Linked DNA regions of Homo sapiens: regions 1 and 2 are each linked to region 3. Evidence: promoter capture Hi-C in 16 types of primary human blood cells and fetal thymus (Javierre and others, 2016). All regions are on one chromosome and are shown on one strand. Each heading gives the region's core, a stretch centred on a gene start or on the middle of the fragment in contact. The rest is flanking DNA. Distances are from core to core; before and after follow the strand shown.

Region 1 (2,700 bases), core at 118-2,617, 1.2 Mb before region 3:
TCTTGATATGTTTATGTTATTGACAAAATTCAAAATATTATTGACAAAAACAGAACAAAGTGCCCTGATGCATGGAATTAGTTAATATTAGCCACTTATATATTAGAGAATTATTTAGCCCTACTAAAATAATAGGTACCTATGCCATCACAATTAATGTTAATGGCCTCTTCTTCATAGGAACTATTGACTTTATAATTCTTCTAAGGTCTATCTTGATCCAGATGACCCTTATAGAGAAGGGTAATTATTTTCCTCTTTACTGTTGCAAGTAGGCAAGGATCCAATTTCTTTAAAAAGAATATAAAAATATCTAGATAAAAATAAAAAGAAGGTCCAAAACTCATTTTATTCTTATGCATTTAAATTGCTGTCTTGCTTGATTCTGGCAATGATACCGTGGATGTAGATTTTGCAAGCATATTAATAATTGGAGACTTATCTTAAACTCACAGAGCTTAAAAAACATATCCATAGAATCAAAGGCAGATGTAAAGTTAATCAAAGCTCTGAAGAGTCCTGAAAAGAGCAGTTTTTTCAATGAGATTAAAAAGAGTTCAATAATAATCAATACTTCAAGAGTGAGGTCTAAAATCTCCTTGCACTTCATATAAAGAATTACAATGAGAGCCCAAACCTTAAATTGTTCAATTAGAAAGATATTAAAGCTCAGAAGGCATATTAAATTAACAATTGGGCCTTTATTTTAAAAATATTGGTGGGTTACCATTTTTAAGTTGTAGAAAACAGCATGTTGAATGCATTTAGATGGAATTGTAACTGGGAGATATGTAGAGTAAATGACTTGATGCAGAACGGTGTCTTCTCGTAAGAACAAATTTCAAGTACATTTACTTTATTAAGCTTGCAATGGCTAATAATTTTAGTCTTTCCCGTAGCTAGAACCTATAACCATTTTGGAGTTATACTCGCATTATGCAACTGTGTTAGGATCTTGAAGCCGGGAGAGGCTAACTTTCAGTATGTAGAGAGAACAACATGGTTCTTCAGAATTTCTAAATAGAACTCAGCCAATCAAGAGACAAATATCTCAAAATCTACCTTATTAACATCATTATTCATCCTAAAAGCCTTTCAGGAAACTTTAATTAGTGTCCTTTAAACCCCTTCAGTAAATGTTTACGATTCTTTACAAGGTTTGTGGGAAATGGAATTTGTTTGTTTAATTTGTAACCATCTAAACAATCCAGTTTTATTTGGGTTACATTAGTAAGGTATGAAAAATAGTCAACTTGTGTCAGTCAGGTCTTCAGAATGACTTTATCCTTTGAAGGGAAATGTAAATATTTAAATTATAAAACAAAACAAAGTTATATTCATATATATCAGTGGTTCTCAGCCAGAGGTGATCTGTTCCCCAAATCCCTTCTAGGAAATACTGGGCAACGTTTGGAAGCCTTTTTCGTTGTCACATCTAAGGTATATGCTACTGGCATTTAGTGGGTAGACACCAGGGATGCTGCTAAACATCCTACCATGTAACAGACAGCCTCCCACAAGGAAGAATATCTAGTCCAAATGTCAATAGTGCTGAGGTTGAGAAACTTGAACACATGAATCAACATACACTCCAAACCAAAGTAAACTGATTCTAATGGTCTGCCTTTAATCATTTCCATTAATGTGAATAGTCAAGTATTTACCACATTACATATAGTATGCAATACCTACTAGATTATTGACTAATCTATTACCTAAATAGATTATTGTCTAAGGATTTTCTTAAATGTAAGCTACAAGCTAAAATGCATCCAATTTTTCTCTCTCTCATCCACTCATTTAACTGAAACACCGTGCAAAATAAATGTTTTCCCAAATTAAAAAGTAGCGTGTTGTGGAGGTGAATTATTAAGCTTATTTGTTTATGTTTTTTTAAACTTATTTTACTTTCATGATTTGAAATTTTAAAAGTGATGCTAACATACTAAAGATTTTATCTGGAGTGCTGTGTCCTGGGAATAACTTCTTCAGGCATTCAGCAAAGTGACCCTCTGAGGTTATATAGGCAGAACATCATGGAGATGTCTGGCTGCTGTGACAGACTCTAAATATCAATCAAAATCAATAAACAGGCATTAAGAATTTATTGCAGGCCAATCCTGTGCTTTAGCAGATGCCTTCTCCAAATATTGTGGGATATATTGGGAAAAAAAGCTCTCTTCTGTTCTCTAAATTGATATTTTTAAAAGCTGTTATTATTTTTTTAATTTTGTATATAAAATACATACACAATTATGCATTTAGTACTGTTTAGCTATCAGTCACAAGGCTAAACAACACATGTACTGTAGAGGTAGATACCAAAAAAGTAAAATACTCAGAGTTTACTTACTAGTTATAACAAAACAATTAAAGTATATAGAACAATTTTTTTGATTGAGTACCAAATTTCATCATAAAATAGGGTTATAGTCGTTAAGAAAATGGAATAAACAACATATGTGGAATGATAAATAATACATCAAAAGTAGACCTGACCTTGAACTTGGATGCCAAACCATGAATTAAGTTTGTACAATATAAATGTTAAAAGATAAGACAGGAAGAAAATAAAGATGTTATCAAGGGTTTAAATAAAAAACAGTAGAGATGAGAAACAATGTGTCTTCCTAATGTTTACTTTGTTTTTTAAGTAAAATATAAACTTTATATACCTTTTTAGTTCTCCTCTACATTATA
Region 2 (2,700 bases), core at 22-2,521, 1.3 Mb before region 3:
GTGAATTTTTCATTGCAATATTTGACATCTTTGAAATTTCCATTTGGTTCTTTTTTTAAAGATTCTTGCTTTTAAATACAATACTCTTCGCTGCTTGTCTCCTGGTGCTGTGACTCTTGGATTTATTGCAGATTGTCCAAAGCCAGGTCACACCCTCAAGAGTGATTTTCAATTGTTTAAAATCACTAACATCAAATTGAGGGTGTGAACCTGACACCATGAGAAGACATGAAAAGAGATAACTGCAAATGGAAATGTAAGGCAGATGGGAAAAATCACCTATTAATAGCATATGAAATCAGACAATTATTTAGTTACTGCTTTCCAGGGATTTAAAAAATCTGCTCCCAAAGACCATATATTTTCTTTCCATTGTGAACATTTTATTCTTTGTCAGCTGTGTGAAGAAAAAAGCTTTTTGATTTTCTTTTGTCTATTCTTGAGAAAAAATTGCAAAACACATACTAGAAAATATTTTCAATAATTTTATGTATTTCTTTATAAATGCCATAAGGAAATATATGTACAAATAAATATAAACATGTTACTAAATTAAGAAAATGATATCAGATACCATATTCTATATCTTCCCTCATCTCATAGTCTCAACATATATCATTTGTATTATTTTATTTGAAATGCATATGTCATTTTTTTAAATTCATTTTTCCATTACCTGAGAAAGTACCATGGTCCCAGGTAAATCCATTTGAAAAATCCGTATTTTTACTTTTATAGGTAGCTCAATTCAGTAATTCTTACTACAAACATGTAAATTTCTTTCTTAATTCATTAACTTTTAAAAATATATATTAACAGCCCTATTGCAAAAGATGAAGATAGTATCTTTCTTACAAAATCTTTCTGGCCCTACTTACTCCTACTACTATTTGTTAATTACATAGTTATTTTGAGTTTTTCTGATAATTGCATTTACACATCTAAATGTTGGGTCAGTTCTGGAATATTTTTGGTTCCAGATAAAAGAAAACTTGATTATCATTATGGCTTATGTGGGTAAGAATTTATTTGCTATTCATAGCAAGAGATCTAGAAGTGCATGGTTGCAGGGTTGACCAATAGGCTTAATAACATCAAGGCCCCTGGACAGCAGCTTTGCAATCTCTTAGCCTTCCCTTCTATGGCTGAATAGACATCTATAAGTCCACCTTCTCCTTCCATCCCATTTTTTGGGTGTATATATCTCCGCCAGCTGCAAACATGGAGGCTAATGCATTCTGTGTTCAGCCTTTTACTTATTACTCTGACAGTAACCCCTGCTCTCACCTTTTTTTTCTGCCTTCTCAAGCACATGTTTCGTGTTGTTTTCTAAATTCTAATTTATCCATCAGCAGGACTTTATCAGCTTTCCATATTATAGAAATTCAACATTTAAGTGGCTGGTTGATGGTACATTTTCTTGCCTTTATCATTGTGAATAATTTATTCTTCTTGGGTATGTAAGAAGAAGGGAAGGAAAACTCTGTATTCAGGTCAGTTTTTTAAAAAACTAAAAAACTGAAGGTTTATAAGCATCATTGTGAAGTGTCTTTTCTAACCTAAATATAACACACAGATATTTTTCTTTTTACTTTGTGAATTAAAAATTTACCTTGTGAATTAAAAGTTGAATGGCAGAGATTTATTTACTTTGTTTTGTCATATCAAGTTGATATTGTTTGGATCTGTATCCCCACCAAATCGCTTGTCAAATTGTAATCCCCAGTGTTGGAGGCAGGGCCTGGTGGGAGGTGATTGGATCATGGGGATGATTTCTCATGAATGGTTTAGCACCATCCTGTTGGTACCATCCTCATGACAGTGTGTGCGTTCTCGTGAGATCTGGTCATTTAGAAGTGTGTGGCACCTCCTCCTTCACTCCCTCTTGCTCCTGCCACGTAAGACGTGCCTGTTTCTCCTTCGCCTTCTGTCATCATTGTAAGTTTCCCGAATCCTCTCCAGACACTAAGCAGATGCCAGTGCCATGCTTCCTGTACAGCCTGTGGAACTGCGTAAACCAATTAAACCTCTTTTCTTTAAAAATTACCTAGTTGCAGGTATTTCTTTATAGCAATGTAAGAACTAAAACGTAAGTGGTGAATTCATAATTTCAGTGAAAACTATGAATCTAAGCTTGACACTCATGAAGAATTTATGTGCCAGGAACCATGCTCAGTATGATTTTTCAAACACTGTTTGTATTTTTTTTTTTATTTTGAAGAATTTCAGACTTACAGAAATGTTGTAAAAATAGAACAAAGAATTCTGATATACTTTTTACACAGATCCTCAAATTTTAATATTTTACTCCTTTTCTGTCCTTTTTCCACACACACACACACATACACACACACAACATACACGCACACACACATTTTTGACCTATTGAAAAGTAACTTTTAGGCATGATGGCTCTGTGCCACTGAATAGTTAAACGTGTGTTTTCTGAAAACACCATGTTTTCTTACAAAATCATAGTAAAATTATCAAAATCAGGAAATTTACATTGACACAATACTGCTATCTAATTTGCTTGCTTACTTTACAGTAGAATCTAAAATATATAATTCTAATACTATTCAGACAAGAGGAGAGAGTGCAGTATTTTTGATTGCCATAGCATTATTAGATTATTTTATCAATTTGAACTTTACTTTTTGCTTTTATATGAATATAAAACAGGAATAAACATGTCCTGAA
Region 3 (2,700 bases), core at 112-2,611:
TACTGGTGAAAATTCAGCAGATAATTCATTTTTCATTTAATCAGGAAGGAAAAAACTACTTGGCAGTGTAGAGCGACCTAATTAACTAAATAACTGCCAATTCTACATTGTACTTTGTGTTACATGACATATCATGAATAAATACCAGTCAAAAATCAAATTATTTGGATACTTAAATGATGATGAGGCCTGCTGTGCCAACAGGTATGCTAATGAGTAGACATCTCCCAGCCTCAAGACTGAGTGAATGAGGCAAATATTTTCACCTCCCAATCTTTTAGGGTGTTCAATTAACTCAAGTATTTAAGAAGTTCCCTACTATTGGGAAGGAAGTAGATGTAATCATCTATATGCTTATTTTGTCAACTGAGTTGGAAAAACTTGCAAAGGAACAGTTTGGATATATGTATTAGATTTTTATCAAAATACAAATAAATGGTCATAGATGACAATTTTCACCTAAGGAATACAAGTAAGTTTATCTATGTTCAGTTACCAATCGCCTCTAACTAAAGTTAACAATGTCTTCCTTCTAAAACCTTTCTAAAGAGCACCCTGCAATCACACCTTCTAGCAACAGCCATTTCTCTTGAATTAGTAAGGTGGCTACACCGCCAATTTGAGCTGTTCTCCTTCAGTCCTGTAGTCCATCGCCAGGGGAGTCTCCAAATGCTAATAAAAATCAATTTCCCAGACAAAAGAACATATACACGTTTTTTTCTTTCTTTCTTTCTTTTTTTTTTTTTTTTAGAAGAGGGTCAGGGAGCATCTGACGGACGTTTTTAAAGGAAGGGGACAGCTACTTCCATGGGACTGCATTTTAGTTGTGCTAAAAGTGATGAAAGTGGGTTTGCATTATTCTACCACCAACACCCAAACCACCTGCCCACGGAAACCCCCGCCGGAGACCGAAGTTTACCCAAATAGCGCTCGGCAAAGCGCTGCCATAAATTCAAAACTAACTCTGCCGGGCCCGCGGGGGTTGCGAGACAGGGACCGAACGTGAAACCCGGGGAGCCCCGCGTCTCTTGCCTCCGAAGGTTTTCCGTGATCAGTGTCCCCTTCTCTGCTGGAGTCGGAAGTGCCTGTCACCTGCGGATCTGCCCGACTCTCCCGGTCGGCCCTTCTTCTCTGCCCAGTTCGGACAGTCTCGAATTCCCCGTCGCAGCCCCGGCCACCTCGGACTCCCTGGTCCCCAGCCCCCGCCCCACCCCCCGCCTCCACCACGTCCCCTCCCCGCGGTCCCAGCCTCTCCAGGCGCTGCTGGGCTCTGATTGGCGGCTGCGCTGACAGCAGGCGGGGCCTGGAAGTCGCGGCCAAGCCCGCCCTCGCGTATAAGCCCCTCTCAGCGCTCTCTCTCCATCTCTCCCCTCTCTTTCTCTCTCGCTGCTCCCTTCCTCCCTGTAACTGAACAGTGAAAATTCACATTGTGGATCCGCTAACAGGCACAGATGTCATGTGAAAACGCACATGCTCTGCCATCCACACCGCCTTTCTTTCTTTTCTTTCTGTTTCCTTTTTTCCCCCTTGTTCCTTCTCCCTCTTCTTTGTAACTAACAAAACCACCACCAACTCCTCCTCCTGCTGCTGCCCTTCCTCCTCCTCCTCAGTCCAAGTGATCACAAAAGAAATCTTCTGAGCCGGAGGCGGTGGCATTTTTTAAAAAGCAAGCACATTGGAGAGAAAGAAAAAGAAAAACAAAACCAAAACAAAACCCAGGCACCAGACAGCCAGAACATTTTTTTTTCACCCTTCCTGAAAACAAACAAACAAACAAACAATCATCAAAACAGTCACCACCAACATCAAAACTGTTAACATAGCGGCGGCGGCGGCAAACGTCACCCTGCAGCCACGGCGTCCGCCTAAAGGGATGGTTTTCTCGGCAGAGCAGCTCTTCGCCGACCACCTTCTTCACTCGTGCTGAGCGGGATTTTTGGGCTCTCCGGGGTTCGGGCTGGGAGCAGCTTCATGACTACGCGGAGCGGGAGAGCGGCCACACCATGCGAGGTAAGCGAGTCTGCGGGCACCGAGGCTCCCCGAGTCCGGCCAACTCCAGCCAGACGGGGAGATGGGGGAGGGGAGGGCACCCAGCAGAAAGGGAAAGAGGTTGCCCAGGCGCAGTTCCCCGAATTCGCTCTCGCAGGTGGGGCTGCAAATGGCCTGGGCGTAGAAAGTTGCGGGAAGGTGTTGATGTCTTTCGGGAGTTCTGGAGGGACGCGGGAGGGCGCTTTTTTGGAGAGGGGAGACAGGCTAGTTGGTTCTTACCAGTCCTTGAGTTGCACTGAATCTTTTTTGCTTGTCGCTCTCGGGTGCGGAAGCGGACGCGGGATGGAGAAAGCCGAAAGAGGGATGCCTCTGGACAGGAGCAGTTTGGAAGCGCCCGGCGCGCAGTGGTCGCCGGCCGGGTTTGGGCGCGCGGGGCGCACCGGCCGGGGGCAGGGTGGACACGCGCGGGCACACACTCGCCAGGTTACGAGGCCCACTAAGCGTCCTGGCCAGCAGGCATGTCCCTTCGCTGGAGTAGCAAGCAGAAGAGCAGTGCTGCGAGGCTGGACGCGGCTGAGGAAACAGTTAGTTCCCCGGCACGCGGCTGAGGAAACAGTTCTGCGGCGCGCGCCTTCGTGCCGGCGCTGCGCCCTGGCCAGGTCCTCGTGCCCGAGCCCGCGCGGCCCAGGGAGTAGTGCGACCCCGGAAAAG

The links. The method cuts DNA at HindIII sites, captures the fragments that hold promoters and counts their contacts. A CHiCAGO score of 5 or more calls a contact.
Region 1: a contact is called between a fragment that was not itself captured here and the fragment with the promoter of RORB in region 3, in 3 of 17 cell types (megakaryocytes, fetal thymus and total B cells). The highest score is 7.1, in megakaryocytes.
Region 2: a contact is called between a fragment that was not itself captured here and the fragment with the promoter of RORB in region 3, in 1 of 17 cell types (monocytes). The highest score is 5.0, in monocytes.

Annotation. Positions count from the first base shown.
Region 1 is chr9:73,261,098-73,263,797 of GRCh38, forward strand. All of the region lies in intron 1 of LOC101927281 (a long non-coding RNA gene), which reads left to right. Among named protein-coding and RNA genes, the nearest start is that of ANXA1, 110 kb to the left of the region's middle. The HindIII fragment of the contact is 1,010 bases long and covers 863-1,872 here.
Region 2 is chr9:73,194,311-73,197,010 of GRCh38, forward strand. No RefSeq gene overlaps it. Among named protein-coding and RNA genes, the nearest start is that of ANXA1, 44 kb to the left of the region's middle. The HindIII fragment of the contact is 1,719 bases long and covers 413-2,131 here.
Region 3 is chr9:74,495,974-74,498,673 of GRCh38, forward strand. It overlaps RORB (RAR related orphan receptor B), which reads left to right and starts at 1,362. Exons shown (of 10, transcript NM_006914.4): 1 at 1,362-2,010. The coding sequence starts at 2,004. It overlaps RORB-AS1 (RORB antisense RNA 1), which reads right to left and starts at 2,580. Exons shown (of 5, transcript NR_125791.1): 1 at 2,269-2,580. RefSeq lists silencers at 998-1,210, 1,206-1,395, 1,300-1,594. The HindIII fragment of the contact is 5,400 bases long and covers 1-2,700 here.